2 separate regions of the Homo sapiens genome follow, and region 1 is linked to region 2. The links are contacts of gene promoters, found by promoter capture Hi-C in blood cells and fetal thymus (Javierre and others, 2016). All regions are on one chromosome and are shown on one strand. The core of a region is centred on a gene start or on the middle of the fragment in contact, and the rest is flanking DNA. Distances in the headings are between cores, read along the strand shown.

The links. The method cuts DNA at HindIII sites, captures the fragments that hold promoters and counts their contacts. A CHiCAGO score of 5 or more calls a contact.
Region 1: a contact is called between a fragment that was not itself captured here and the fragment with the promoter of KLRB1 in region 2, in 5 of 17 cell types (M2 macrophages, total B cells, endothelial precursors and 2 more). The highest score is 7.5, in M2 macrophages.

Annotation. Positions count from the first base shown.
Region 1 is chr12:9,358,511-9,362,486 of GRCh38, forward strand. No RefSeq gene overlaps it. Among named protein-coding and RNA genes, the nearest start is that of LINC02367, 7.0 kb to the right of the region's middle. RefSeq lists an enhancer at 3,578-3,827. The HindIII fragment of the contact is 2,764 bases long and covers 1,345-3,976 here.
Region 2 is chr12:9,606,234-9,610,425 of GRCh38, forward strand. It overlaps KLRB1 (killer cell lectin like receptor B1), which reads right to left and starts at 1,683. Exons shown (of 6, transcript NM_002258.3): 1 at 1,522-1,683. The coding sequence starts at 1,606. The HindIII fragment of the contact is 4,730 bases long and covers 1-1,684 here.

The DNA of each region.
Region 1 (3,976 bases), core at 1,477-3,976, 250 kb before region 2:
ACTTGGTGCAGAGTTGAGTTCAAGTCCTGGATATCCTTGTTAACCTTCTGTCTCATTGATCTGTCTAATATGGACAGTGGGGTGTTGAAGTCTCCCATTATTACTGTGTGGGAGTCTAGGTCTCTTTCTAGGTCTCTAAGGACTTGCTTCATGAATCCGAGTGCTCCTGTATTGGGTGCATATATGTTTAGGACAATTAGCTCTTCTTGTTGAATTGATCCCTTTACCATTATGTAATGGCCTTCTTTGTCTCTTTAGATCTTCACTGGTTTAACGTCTGCTGTATCAAAGACTAGGATTGCAACCCCTGCTTTTTTTTTCTCTCCATTTGCTTGGCAGATCTTCCTCCATCCATTTATTTTGAGCCTATGTGTGTCCTGCACTTGAGATGGGTCTCCTGAATATAGCACACTAATGGGTCTTGACTCCTTATCCAATTTGCCAGTCTGTGTCTTTTATTAGGGGCATTTAGCCCATTTACGTTTAACATTAATATACTTGTGTGTGAATTTGATCCCGTCATTACAATGTTAGCTGGTTATTTTGCCCATTAATTGATGCTGTTTCTTCATAGCATCGATGGTCTTTACAATTTGGCATGTTTTTGAAGTGGTTGATACAGGTTGTCCCTTTCCATGTTTAGTGCTTCCTTCAGGAGCTCTTGTAAGGCAGGCCTCATGGTGACAAAATCTCTCAGCATTTGCTTGTCTATAAAGGATTTTATTTCTCCTTCACTTATGAAGCTTAGTTTGGCTGGATATGAAATTTTGGATTGAAAATTCTTTTCTTTAAGAATGTTGAATATTGGCCCCTACTCTCTTCTGGCCTGTAGAGTTTCTGCTGAGAGATCTGCTGTTAGTCTGATGGGCTCCCCTTTGTGGGTAACCCAACCTTTCTCTCTGGCTGCCCTTACCATTTTTTCCTTTATTTGAACCCTGGTGAGTCTGACAATTATGTGTCTTGGGGTTGCTCTTCTCGAGGAGTATCTTTGTGGTGGTCTCTGTATTTCCTTAATTTGAATGTTGGCCTGCCTTGCTAGGTTGGGGAAATTCTCCTGGATAATATCCTGAAGAGTGTTTTCTAGCTTGGTTCCACTCTCCTTGTCACTTTCAGGTACACCAGTCAATTGTAGATTTGGTCTTTTCACATAGTCCCATATTTTTTGGAGGCTTTGTTCATTTCTCTCTTTTCGCCCCCGGGTTCTGCCCAGGGTGGCCTGATGGAAAGCCCCGACATTAGAATGGGAACCATCCCTTAAAACCTGTCTTTTCCAAAAGCCAGTTTGAATTTACATCTTTAAAATCTCCAAAATATTTATTTTACAAGGCAGGAGCTGTGCCCCAAAGCTTGTGGCAATTGGGGACCTAAGGTTCCTTGAAATCACCTGAGTGTGGAAGTGGTGATAAGGTGCTAAAGAGATGATCTGAACTCACCAGGCTGATGTGGATAGAATGGGAGGCCCCAGTTCTGTCCCTCCATCCCTGAGGCCCCTCCCCAACCTCCCTGGACCCCCTGTCCACAGAGGCCGTGCTGTGTGCCAGCCTCACTCCTGCATTCTGGAGATGCCGTTCCAAGATGGAGGTTCCCTCACACCTTCCCCCACCCAGCAAACTCCATTGGACAGATCCACACCAGCAACAGCTTCACAGCTAGGCCCTGGAGGTATGGAGCTCACAGACCTCCCACTAACTAAGAAAAACACGGTAGAGAGCCAGAAGGGTGGCAGGTTCCAACAGAGCCCCCACCATGTCCCCCACCCAGCCCCCCATCCGACCCCTTCCCTCCACCTGGACTCAGCACCATCCTGAGTCCCTGCGTGAGAGGCACGTTGAGTTCTATGGAAGAATAACAAAAGTGAGAACAACTGGTACAGTTGCCATGAGGCCCTGGATGCCCAGGGGACTGGAGGCTTTGACGGCCTCTGACTCGGCCCCTCTCGGGGGATCCTGAAGACTATGGGGATGTTTGCCTCTCCACACACACACAGCATCCCATTCCCTGGCTGCCACTCCACACAGATTACCTTCCTGCACCAGAGGTTTCAATATTTCTTGAAAAGGTTGGCAATTTTGAAATTTTTTTCATACATTTATTCCTTACGATCCACTCCTCTGCTTTCTTACAATTGAGCATTTTGAGAATAATTTAACCTTTTCATCATGACTTGGGGTCCTGATGATGAACACCATTATTGTGTTGAGATGTCATTTCCCCCAGAGTGCAGGGACCATGTCTCAGTCCTCTGTGTGCTCCTCGGCACCTCGGCCAGCCCATGGCGATGCTGTGTGTGTCTGCGGGGTTGCACTGACAGAAGCCAACAGAGGCTCTGGCATAAAGGCTGACAGCCTGCTGCTCTGGGCGGTTCTGCTTTGTGAATATGTGTTCCTTAGTGTCTTTCCTTAGTATCCTCTCTTGCTATCAGTCTATCAGCTCACCAAATCTTGAGGCCCCTCTTTTTATTTTCACTTTTTAAAAATTGAGATATCATTCACCTAACATAAAAATCACCCTTTTAAAGTGGTTTTCATATATATTCACAAAATTGTGCGTCCATCACTACTATCTAATTCTAAACATTTTCATCACCTCCACAAAGAAACCTCATACGCATGGTCAGTCTCCACACTTCTTTCCCCTAGCCCCCAGCAACCACAAACCTACCTTCTGTCTCTCTGGATTTGCCTGTTCTGCACTTTTGCATAGAATGGAATCCTGTGCCATGTGGTCCCTTTATGCACGATATCCAACCCAGAGAAAGGCCTTGCTTCCTAAGCCCTCCTGAGACTCACCAGCCACGAGCCCGCATCTATAGCAAGTTCTTTTGAAGGCCCTCTTTACTGCTGGACATTCTTCCTTTGTGCAACAAGTCAATAAACCCATTTTGGTTCAGCTACAGGTGAGTTCTTGGTGGTTTTTTAGCTTAGGAGGATTGGCAGAAATAGAGGTTCCCTGAGTCAGCTGAAGCCCTCCCCCTTGGACAAGAACCCCCGCCTCAGTTAGGGTGGACACAGCTGAGACATACAGGGTGTCTCCCTCTGTCTGAGGTGCCGGGTGGCCCACAGCTGGAAGGCAGCTCGGGCTGAATGGAGGCTGATATTTCCTTGAGGCCCCATGGAGGCTGATATTTCCTTGAGGCCCCTCCGCTTCAGGTGTGCTCTGTTCTGGGAATGAGGTGCTGTGCGACTTTTCCTGGTGATCTGATCAGATTTGCCCCGCTCCACGGTGAAACTGCTGTCTAGCCTTCTGAGAAATGCTCCTATGTCTATCTGGTGGTCGAATGTTCTAAGCGTTGTCTCTAAGTGGAAAATTCAGTAGTTGATAGGGGCCCGGGAAGTCTGTCCTCAAGCTGGTCTTGGAGGTCACAGTGCTCAGGAGTTCCCCTCAGACTAGCATTCATTGGAATGAGCTTTGCCCCAGGTCACTGTTTTCATACCTAAGGGTGGATTTTCCCCTCAACTTTGTCTCTGTGTGGTTCCTGAGAACTGCTCACTTTAAAGTTCCCTCTGCCTGGAATCAGGAGGATTGGGGACAATCAGCCTGTGGCCTCTGACCAAGCTCTGGAGGCACGAAGTCTCTTCTCGGACTGCTCGGGTGCCCGTGCGACCTTCTTCATCGGACGTGGCTCTTCCCCAGGCCAAACGCCTGCTGCTTTCAGATTTCCTCACTGTCGTGTGAACTCATCTTATGCCTCTGACACAATTTCTTGAGACACCATTTGAAACTGCAGTGGCCGCTCTGGGGAATTTTCACATGAATGAGGTTGTTCGTTTGAGAGGTTCTGTACAGCAAACATGGAAGGAGCCCCGTGAAGAGCTTCTCTTGTGGGACAGAGACATCGATGTGTTTAATGCAGGAGACACAGTCCCTTCCTCATTTGTTTCCATACTTCAGGGATTAATAAGTGCTGGGGTTTTGTTGTACAGATTGATAAAACTGTCGAAGGCCAAGCTGTTGTCCAAAACAGGATAATTTCACT
Region 2 (4,192 bases), core at 433-2,932:
CAATTGTAATATTATCAATGATAGTAAATTCAGTTAGATATCAGAAAATAATAATGTGTCATAATAATTTCATGCTGATTTTCTGCCTCAGTTTCTAGTTTCTTCCCATCCATCCACAGGCCATGCTATCCATCATGTGTTACCTCACATTGGTGTTCCCCGCTTCTTTCACTCAGAATGCTAACTCTTCAGAGACACAGGAAAGTGCCAGTTTCAACAAATGGTAAGTAGGTTCGTTACTGATATGCTCGAGTATTTTTGTGGCTTGTCTCTTTCTAAGCTGTGATACTTTTCAAACTAGAAACTATCAGGTAGTAATGATATTCAAATCTTTGATCTTGAATATGATTTTTTTTCCAGAAAGTGTTCCCCTCTCTTGAGAGAGTGAAGTATGTTACTCATTAAGCCTACACTTTATATATATATATATAAAATATATAAAATATATGTATAAAAAGTATATATATATATATAAAATATATAAAATATATGTATAAAAAGTATATATATATATATATATATATATATTTTTTTTTTTTTTTTGAGATAGTCTTGCTGTGTCACCCAGGCTGGAGTACAGTGGCACAATTACAGCTCACTGCAGCCTTGATCTCTTGGGCTCAAGCAATCCTCTCACCTCAGCCTCCCGAGTAGCTAGGACCACAGGCACGTGCCCCACACTTGGCTATTTTTTTGTATTGTTTGTAGAGATGAGGTTTTGCCACATTGCCCAGGCTGGCCTTAAACTCCTGGACTCAAGCAAATCACCTTAGCCTACCAAAGTGTTGGGATTACAGGCATGAGCCACTGCAACTGGCCTACACGTTGTATTCTGAAAGGAATATTATGGATGAAAATGCACTGGGACTTAATCATAGTATTGATATTTTGTAGAGGAATTTGGAATAACGTAGGTTGTTATTACAGCAAGTTTGCAATGTGTCTTAAATATTCCTTAGTTCATACATGTAAAATATTTTTCCTTCCTTCCTTCCATCCTTCCTTCCTTCCTCCTTCTCTTTTTCTTTCTTTCCTTTCCTTTCTCTCTCTTTCTTTTTCTTTCTCTCCTTTCTTTCTTTCTTCTTTTCTTTCTCTTTCTTTCCTTTCTTTCTTTCTTTCTTCCTTTCTTTCTTTCTTTCTTTCTTTCTTTCTTTCTTTCTTTCTTTCTTTCTTTTCTTTCTTTCTTTCTTTCTTCCTTCTTTCCATCCCTGTAGAGCAGGGGTAACCAATAGGCAGTGTGCCCAGGGTAGCCTAAAGTGTTCAGAGTCTTTTAACCAAGGCTCAGTAAGACAAGTGATGTTTGCTTTTCATGCTAACTTGATTGAAAAAAATAAATGTATGAGGTTTAAATTTTTTTTCCCAAAGTTGTGATTATCTACAGGCAAGCCATGCAACACCCGTTAAACATTAATATAAAACTACTGCTCATCTTTAAAGCAATGATTTAAAGCCATAAATGTAACAGGAAGATCTAATTCTGGAAGACATACAAATGCCGAAAGGAAAATTAAAGCCACTTACCCCGAGGAAGAGATGAAGGTGAAGAACTTTCTGGGCCTGAGTCTGTGGGTAAGTTTAACTCAGCATATATTGCTTGTTGGTCCATGGCAGACAGAGGAAGGTGGCATTAAACTTGTGTGTAAGAACAAACTCTCAATTCTGTGAGGCAAAATCAGCAAAAGGAAGCTTTCTGCCTGCAGTACTTTGTTGTCTCTCTTTTGTCCCCACCCACATACACTTTTTGTTGGTGGTTATCTCCATAAATTACTGAGACAATCCACTGACTGCATGTTCATTATACCTAGCTATGTAATATCTACTTTCCTTAATTAACTGGCCTGTTGTTTGAGAAAATTCTGGGAGGCTCATTTGTTCTTGTTTTTCTAACCATCCCTTTTGTGTTCCTCTCTCAGGGCCAGGACCAGAGTGAAGCAAATGAGGCATAGCCTGGGGTTCCAATTTAAGGGGCCCCCAACAAAACTCACTAATTAACAGAAATAATATTTAGCACAATTTTGTAAAAGTAAAAATTAATGCAAAAAAGTCCATAATGCTATTCAAAGGCTCTAAAATCTTCCTGAAATATCTGTGCTCCAAAGAAAGTTGTGAAATGTGAAAAATGGAAACATAAATGTGAGAAAGCCCCCTGAATAACACAACAGAAAAAGCAATGTGCTAAAGATCAGTAGCCTACTGTTAGCTTAGCTCTAAAGGCACTCTTGGATATGATAGCATTTTCACATAAGTAAAAGTATTTGGAAACTGCCAGAATTGTAGGAAGTGGAGTATATGGAATTTTTTATCTCTTTGAAAGACTTTCTTTTTTTTTCAAGGTGATTATAGTATGTGTCTACTTTTTTTTTTTTACCTTTTTTTATTATTATTATACTTTAAGTTCACAATGTACAGGTTTGTTACATATGTATACATGTGCCATGTTGGTGTGCTGCACCCGTTAACTTGTCATTTACATTAGGTATATCTCCTAATGCTATCCCTCCCCCCTCCCCCCACCCCACGACAGGCCCCGGTGTGTGGTGTTCCCCTCCCTGTGTCCAAATATTCTCATTGTTCAATTCCAACCTATGAGTGAGAACATGCGGTGTTTGGTTTTCTGTCCTTGCAATAGTTTGCTCAGAATGATGGTTTCCAGCTTCATCCATGTCCCTACAAAGGACATGAACTCATCCTTTTTTATGGCTGCATACTATTCCATGGTGCATATGTGCCATATATTCTTAATCCAGTCTATCATTGATAGACATTTGGGATGGTTCACGAGTCTTTGCTATTGTGAATAGTGCCACAATAAACATATGTGTGCATGTGTCTTTATAGCAGCGTGATTTATAATCCTTTGGGTATATACCCAGTAATGAGATGGCTGGGTCAAATTCTAGTTCTAGTCCCTCGAGGAATCGCCACACTGTCTTCCACAATGGTTGAACTAGTTTAGAGTCCCACCAACAGTGTAAAAGTGTTCCTATTTCTCCACATCCTCTCCAGCACCTGTTTTTTCCTGACTTTTTAATGACTGTCATTCTAACTGGTGTGAGATGGTATCTCATTGTGGTTTAGATTTGCATTTCTCTGATGGCCAGTGATGATGAGCATTTTTTCATGTGTCTGTTGCCTGCATAAATGTTTTCTTTTGAGAAGTGTCTGTTCATATCCTTTGCCCATTTTTTGATGGGGTTGGTTGATTTTTTCTTGTAAATTTATGTAAGTTCTTTGTAGATTCTGGATATTAGCCGTTTGTCAGATGGGTAGATTGTAAAAATTTTCTCCCATTCTGTAGGTTGTCTGTTCACTCTGATGGTAGTTTCTTTTGCTGTGCAGAAGCTCTTTAATTTAGTTAGATCCCATTGGTCAATTTTGGCTTTTGTTGCCATTGTTATTGGTGTTTTAGTCATGAAGTCCTTCCCATGCCTGTTGCCTGAATGGTATTGCCTAGGTTTTCTTCTAGGGTTTTTATGGTTTTAGATCTAACATTTAAGTTTTTAATCCATCTTGAATTAATTTTTTATAAGGTGTAAGGAAGGGATCCAGTTTCAGCTTTCTATATATGGCTAGCCAGTTTTCCCAGCACCATTTATTAAATAGGGAATCCTTTCCCCATTTCTCGTTTTTGTCAGATTTGTCAAAGATCAGATGGTTGTAGATATGTGGTATTATTTCCGGGGGCTCTGTTCTGTTCCATTGGTCTATATCTCTGTTTTGGTACCAGTACCATGTTGTTTTGGTTGCTGTTGCCTTGGAGTATAGTTTGAAGTCAGGTAGCGTGATGCCTCCAGCTTTGTTCTTTTGACTTAGGTTTGTCTTGGCAATGTGGGACCTTTTTTGGTTCCATATGAACTTTAAAGTAGTTTTTTCCAATTCTGTGAAGAAAGTCATTGGTAGCTTGATGGGGATGGCATTGAATCTATAAATTACCTTGGGCAGTATGGCCATATTCACAATACTGATTCTTCCTATCCGTAAGCATAGAATGATCTTCCATTTATTTGTGTCCTCTTTTATTTCATTGAGCAGTGGTTTGTATTTCTCCTTGAAGAGGTCCTTCACCTCTTTCAAAGATTTTCAGGCATAGAACCTTAGAGCAAGACCTTAGGTGGATTGGGTTCCAAGATGGCCAAATAGGAACAGCTCCAGTCTATAGCTCCCAGCGTGAGCGACACAGAAGATTGGTGAT